Regions from separate parts of the Homo sapiens genome. Here region 1 is linked to region 2. Evidence: promoter capture Hi-C in human tissues and cell types (Jung and others, 2019). All regions are on one chromosome and are shown on one strand. The core of a region is centred on a gene start or on the middle of the fragment in contact, and the rest is flanking DNA. Distances in the headings are between cores, read along the strand shown.

Region 1 (3,448 bases), core at 518-3,017, 400 kb after region 2:
AGTGAGCCAAGACGCTGCCACTGCACTCCAGCCTGGGTGACAGAGCGAGACTCCTTCTCAAAAAGCAAAACAAAAAAAAGAGCAGGCAAAACAAATTACAAATTGGTGGCGGAAAATATCAGAGAAAGGTATTGACTGAGAAGGGACAGGAAGGAATATTTCAGAGATTGAAATGTTCGGTATCTTGATCTGGCTTGTGGCTACACGGTGTATAGATAATGCAAAAACACAAGATTTGTCACTTTACTGACTTGTTAGTTACACTTCAATTAAAAAACAAACAAACAAAAACAAACAAAAAAAACATGGCTGGGGTGTGAATGTGGAGGGGCATAAACAGGGGCTTTCTTTCAACCACATCAGTAAGATTTGATTACTCAGACTGGATTGTGGGTTCAAGGGTGTTGGGTATAGTATTCCGTATCTGAACTGTTAGAGAACACAATTTTTAAAAATACGAACAAAAAGAAGGAAAGGAACATGAAAATACATTGTCTGAATATGGGATGGGCAGAGAGAGATACAAAGCCACAAGGAAGTGGATTCAAGCCTGAGAGGGGGAGAGAGACATCAAAAATACGGATGCGGGGTAGCAGGAGATACCAAGGGGGAGCTCAGAAACAAAGTGACAGGAAGAGGTGGGAGGGGAAACTGAGGCAGGAAGCAAATGACTTCTCTGAGGGAGGTCACTGTGGGCCACCCCTCCCTGGCCCCCAGGGGCCCCAACTCACCAGACAGCTGAAGTGTGGCCCGTCGAGCCTGGAGGGGGAGAGACACAGGGGCATGCTGAGGCTGCCTCCAGCCACCTGAATCTCAAAGTGGTTGGGGGCTGATGGGGAGGCGGCAGCAGCTGTGACCACCGCAGCCCTGTGTGAGGGACCAGCCCCACCACATTCACCGGACTCCCCCACTACCCCCTGCTGGGACAGGAAGTGGGGGGTGGGGGGGAGGCAAATGTCCCCCTCCTCCCCAGAATTTGCATAGACACCCTGGTGGGGAGGGGCAGGGAAAGTGAGGGAGAGAAAGTCCCGGAAAGGAGGTGTGGGGATGGAGAGGGGGCCTGGGTCAAGTGCGGCCTTGGTGGCGAGTCAGTTGAGTCCAGCTTGGACCAGAGGAGAAGGATGGAGAGATGTCTGGGTAGAGAGGGGGAAGCCCGGAGAAGACTCAGATGAGGAGGCTCAAGGAGAGGTGGGACACAGAGAAAGGTGTGCAAAGGGACATTCACGCACAGAGGCGGGGAGGATTCCTGGAGCCCCAGATGGAGGCACTGAGAGTGAGGGTGAGGCAGAAGGAGACCAAAAGGCAGGGAGAGCGAGAACTGGAGACAGAGACACAGAGACAGGCAGAGAGACAGAGAGCAACAGGCAGAATGTTGAGAGCTGGGAGATGCCAGATACAGAGCGAACAGATACGGGAACTCGGGGAGACAGGAGGATGGACAGAGTGAGAGCCACGGAGGACGCCCGCAGGAGGGCACGCTAGCAAGTGTTCTGGGGAAATGAGATCTTTGGGGACCAGGAAAGATAGGAACTGGGGGGATGGAGAGTCCGAAGTGAAGAGGGAACAGAACCAGAAGGGGCAAGAGACAGGGTGGACCCCTCCCCTCCACTCCCACCCACCGGCCGTGAGGAGCAGAGAAACCACTGCCCATGGGTGAGGCCCCACAGAGGGGCAGTGCAGGTGGGGACCCCGGGTGCAGGTTTGGGGGCCCTCACTTACTGTGCAGCCTCCAGGGCGAGCATGGTGGTGCCGGGCGGGCTGTTTGCCGCCCGCTGCAGCCGCCAACCCTATTTATATCTTGGCCCAGCCCCTGCCGGGGGGAGGAGGGTGCCCGCTGGCCACAAGCTCGGCCCTCCTCAAAAATCCCCTCAGGGAGGGGGTCAGGGGAGGGGGCTGGATTGCACAACCCCTTTGTCACATGGCAGGGATGGCGGGCCAGGGGCTGTCTGGATTTGGGGATCCCCGTGGGGCTGGGTTTGGGGGGCTGACCTTGAGGGCTGGAGATGGGACAGGAGCTGGATTTGGGGGAACCCTGAAAACATCGAGGAAGGGCTGGGGTTCACTGAAGAGGAGAATCAGGAAACGGAGGATCTGGACCCAGGAGCCGAATTCCAGCAGGGGCGGGCTGGGGGCCGAGGGGCAAGCACAAGACTCTCCCCGGGGGATGTGTGAGGTGACGGGAGGGCCGAGGGCATCTGACGGCAGTTAGAGGCTGCGGGGATAGAGATGGGAGTCGCTGGGGGGAAACCCAGACCCAAAGCCCATTGCCAGGACCCCGACGTGGAAACATCGTGGGTGTGTGGTCCGGCGGGGGATGGGGGGGTCCCCTTGGCCGGGCTGAGGAGTGGAAGCCCCGGTGCGCCTGGGGCTGCCCCAGGGCCTGGAGGAAACAGGTCAGCACCTGGAGGGCGGGGCAGCCACCAGGGTCCCCAGGGTCATCACCAGGGAGGGCTGGGCCGGGGCCAGACACCTGGGGGCCCTAAGCAGGGCAGAGAAGCGCTGGTATAAGGGTTCCTTCAGGGCCAGAGAGGAAACTGAGGCAGGCTTGGCCCACATGAACCAGGCAGCACAGGTGGGAGTCCGGGGGCTTTTGCTGAGGATGAGGGGCGGTGCGGGCCTCAGGAGGGTCCCAGCCAAGGCCAGGGCTTATGAAACCAGACAGTGTCCCCCAGAGACCACAAAGCACCATATAGCAAAAGTCCAGAACTTTATTAATTCTCCCTGGTCCCGCCCCCGCCCCATGGGATGCTTGCAAGGTCACCAGGCCTCAGGTCCAGGGGGTCCGAAGCGCCGCAGGAGCTGCTCCTGGTCTTCCAGGTCCTTCCGCACCTTCTTGCGCATGTAGAAGATGGGGCAGTCCCGGCTGCGGGTGGGGGCAGGGGCAGGGTCAGGACCAGCCAAGGCCCAGTGCCCAGCCTGGGAGAGGGGTGGGGGCTGTTCCCAGGACTTTGGTCCCCGCCTGCTGCCCAGCCCACCCGCCCCCTCCCGCAGCGGGCTGTTTGCTCAGCAGGCACGGGGGGGGTGGGGGGGGGGAGCCGATAACAGCGGGTGCCTGGCGAGGTGCAGGGCCATGGCTGGCCGTATATCACCTGTCACCTGGCGTGGGAACCCACCCCGCCTACCCGTTCCCTGGGGAAAGCCCGGCCCCGCCCTGGGGAGGGGGCCAGGCTGGCTGGGTGTGTCGGGAGGACAGCCGTTTCCCGGGCAACACTGGGTGCCGGGCGCTGCCTCCCTAAGCACCCACCCCCTCTGGGGGGCTGGGATGGGCCCATTTTTCAGACAAGGACACTGAGGCTCAGGACAGCTCACAGCTGGAAGGGGATGGGCGGGGAGGATGCTCAGGAGAGGCCTTGGAGTCAGAGGTTGGGTCCACAACCCACAGGCCTGGGAGCTGGGAAGGGGCGGGGCAGCCCAGGGTCGGGACATGGCACACACCTGGTGCAGATGA
Region 2 (3,225 bases), core at 108-2,607:
CGGCTCACTTGAGGTCAGGAGTGCAAGACCAGCCTGGCCAACATGGTGAAACCCCATCTCTACTAAAAATACTAAAAAAATTTAGCCGGGCGTGGTGGCACACGACTGTAATCCTAGCTACTTGGGAGGGTGATGTGGGAGGATCGCTTGAACTTAGGAGGCAGGAGTTGCAGTGAGCCGAGATCGCGCCACTGCACTCCAGCCTGGTGACAGAGCAAGACTCCATCTCAGAAAAAAAAAAAAAAAAAAAAAGATTTAGTTCTGGGCTTCCTGGTAGCCATGGCAAAAAGGCAAATACTGTCCTTTCCTTAGCCAGGTCCCTGATATACAGCAGAGGCTGGAACTCTGAGCTGCTTTGATTTTACCAAAAAGCCAAGACAACCTGTTGGAAGCCTATGGGTTTACCATTGAGGCTGCAGGAATCTAGTTCCTAATTATCTTCAGAGACCACAAAATGTGATGTTCAAGGTCGCTGAATGTTGAAGTACATGAACCTGGCTCGTGAGACCTAAATATTGTACTGGTGGTGGGGGGGAAGGGTCATTGGAATCTGTGGTTAGCCTGATCTTGACCTGGGAGGGAAGGTTGTCCAGATCTCTGGGACTTTGGAGGACAGGACGTTGAGCACCCATAACTGGGAGCAAGAAGTGGGAGGCTCATTGAGACCCCAGCATTGTTTGGGAGGGACACTGGATTTTGTAATGCTAAAGAACTTACCCTGGGAGACCCCTGAAACTTCACATTCCTGGATCTGGAGGCACTAGGAATGTGGTGATGTGTACCCCAAAATTTTATTATGAAAGGAACAGTAGCTTTGGGGACCTAGGTCCTGGGTCTGGGAGTGCAAGAACCAGGGCATTCTGAAGGCCAAGGCTTATATTTCAGGGGGAACTGGCAGCTGAGATGCTAGTATCTTGGCTCCGAGTGGTGCAGGGAATCAGAGCCCTAACTGCTGGTGTTTGAGGGCACCAGGTCTGGGGGTGCAGGGCCTTAATTGAGACTGAGGTATATGGGGCTTTGTACCAGGGGTCACTGATTCCTCCGTCTTCCTGTTTCTGCTTCCCCTCAGTCCCCCCTTGCCTCACTGGCTGCTCCCCAGAGCAAAGCCCCAGAGCCACAGGCCCTGCCCCACCTGGCTTCAACCCCAGGAATGCGTCCAGCGTGATCCAGGGCCTGCAGAACAGGTGCTGGTTCTCCCTCCCCGTCTACAGCTCTGGGGATCGGAGGGGGGGGGGGCAATTGTCCAGCCCCCAGGCAACAGGGGAAGGGCCTTGGCCAACATCTGGGTGCCAGCAGGGCAGGGGTGGGGCTCTGAGGGGATAAGGGCTTTTAAAAGCCTCCCCAGGGAGGTTCCCCAGTTCCTCCACCTGCTGGCCCCTGGACACCTCTGTCACCATGTGGTTCCTGGTTCTGTGCCTCGCCCTGTCCCTGGGGGGGACTGGTGAGACAGTGGGGGGATGTGGGAGGGGGAACGGGCCCTGATTCTCTTGCTGGCCTCACATCCCCCCCCGATAAGACCTTCCCCTCCAACACCCCACCCTCATCCCTCTGGCCCACAGTCTATCCTAGTCCGGGGTGCCCCGGCTCTTATCTATCTTGCGCGGCCCCACCCTAAACTTCCACCCCCGCTCCTCCATGTTGTCATAGTGCTCACTCCCACACCAGATTCCTGCTCCTCCCAGGAAGCCTCAGTACTTTCTCCTCTTCCCTAGCCAACGCCCTGTCCCACCGCTTTACCAAAGGGGCAGATTCTGGGCCATCTCTGTCTCTCTCTGGAGGACCCCAACCCTCCCATGGGCTTCCCCCACCCCACAGGACTCTGATCATCCCCTCCTGCCCCCTAGTTCCCTGCGGCCACCTATTTGGCTCCTGAGTCTACAAATCCCACCACACTCCAGTGACTTTTTCCATCCAGCTGTCCGCTCTCAACTGTGTCCTCCAGACCCTGACATCTGGTCTCCCCAGTCCTTCCAGGGTCCCCCAAATTTCACCAGAAAACCCTGCTTCCCAAACTGGCATGTGGGATCCCCCATCTGGTATGGGGGGGGGTCTGCAAATGTCCCTTCCCACCCAGCACCCCCAGCTCTCCCAGGAAAAACACCACACCCTCCCACCACATGCTCCTTTCCTTGGGGAAGTTCCATCCCGCCCCAGGCCCCAGCCCTTCTCTGCCTGAATTGTTCCTACACAGCTCTGGTTTTCTGGAACCCCACCCCAAGGATCCTGAATGCCTTCTCAGCCAGCGCTTCTGCCCTGGCCTCCCCCAAGTCAGTATGTGATTCTACAACCTCACGTCAAGTGGGTCCTGCATTGCATTCCCACAGCTGCTTGGCGCCTGTTCTCACCACTTCTCCAATCCTCTTCCTAGGATTGCCTCCAAGAGGACCCCATATCCTTCCAGTACCCTCAGACCATGAACCCCATCCCCATGAGAAACGAAGATCCCATCCTTCACCCTGTCCGAGAAGGACTGCCACTCACGCCTCCCTCCTCCTGAGCCCCGTCCCAGTCCTGACCGCAACTGTGTTCTCAGGGCCCCAACCTCCCCTCAGATTGCCATTCCTGGTTCACAGGAAGGACCCCAAAACCTCTCGGAAGCCCACCTCTAGCCTTAACCATAGCCCTTTCTTTTACCCTTTAACCAGGAAGCCCTGAAATCTAACTGTCCCAGCCAAGCTGGCCCCTTCCAACCCCAATGTAGGGACCCCAAGTCACCCCCAAACTCTTCAGTCCAGATGCTCTTCTTTACCTCTCAGACCTGGTTCCCTAAAGCTGCATCCTTTCCTGAACCTCAAAAGCCCAACCCAGGTCCTGTTTCCCTAGCCTAGGAGCCCCTTAGCCCTCCAGATTCTTCCTCAGTGAGCCTCTGATCCTGTCCCACCCTTGGCGCCTTGATCCCTGGTTTCCAGAATCCCTTTCCACTCCCCTAACCCACCACCTCCCATCCCCCAGCCCCAGACCCCAAATGACCTGACGCCCAGATGCAGTGTCTGCTCCAGACACTGTCTCCTGTCTCCTACCCTGATCCCTGGAGGCTGCTCTACTGTCAGAGCACAAAATCTCCCCACCAGGTCCAGCCACCACTCCAAAAGCCCAGGGAACAGTCCAGAGTCCCACCCCTTCCCAACACCCCTTGCCCATGTCCCCAACCTCCAGCCCTGGTCCTCTACCCGCAATGTCCCTTCAGACCCACAGCCCAGCTCCCTCTCCTAGCCTTGTCCCTGG

Evidence for each region. The method cuts DNA at HindIII sites, captures the fragments that hold promoters and counts their contacts. A contact is called where the count stands out against the background at its distance.
Region 1: a contact is called between the fragment with the promoter of SPIB here and the fragment with the promoter of KLK1 in region 2, in 1 of the 25 tissues and cell types used here (IMR-90 fibroblasts).

The regions. Positions count from the first base shown.
Region 1 is chr19:50,417,257-50,420,704 of GRCh38, reverse strand. SPIB (Spi-B transcription factor) reads right to left here and starts at 1,767. Exons shown (of 6, transcript NM_003121.5): 1 at 1,720-1,767; 2 at 732-759. The coding sequence starts at 1,742. It overlaps POLD1 (DNA polymerase delta 1, catalytic subunit), which reads right to left. Exons shown (of 27, transcript NM_002691.4): 26 at 3,436-3,448; 27 at 2,691-2,863. The coding sequence ends at 2,758. RefSeq lists an enhancer at 871-920 and silencers at 2,460-2,628, 2,911-2,970, 3,001-3,140. The HindIII fragment of the contact is 45,060 bases long and covers 1-3,448 here.
Region 2 is chr19:50,821,919-50,825,143 of GRCh38, reverse strand. It overlaps KLK1 (kallikrein 1), which reads left to right and starts at 1,357. Exons shown (of 5, transcript NM_002257.4): 1 at 1,357-1,441. The coding sequence starts at 1,396. The HindIII fragment of the contact is 15,345 bases long and covers 518-3,225 here.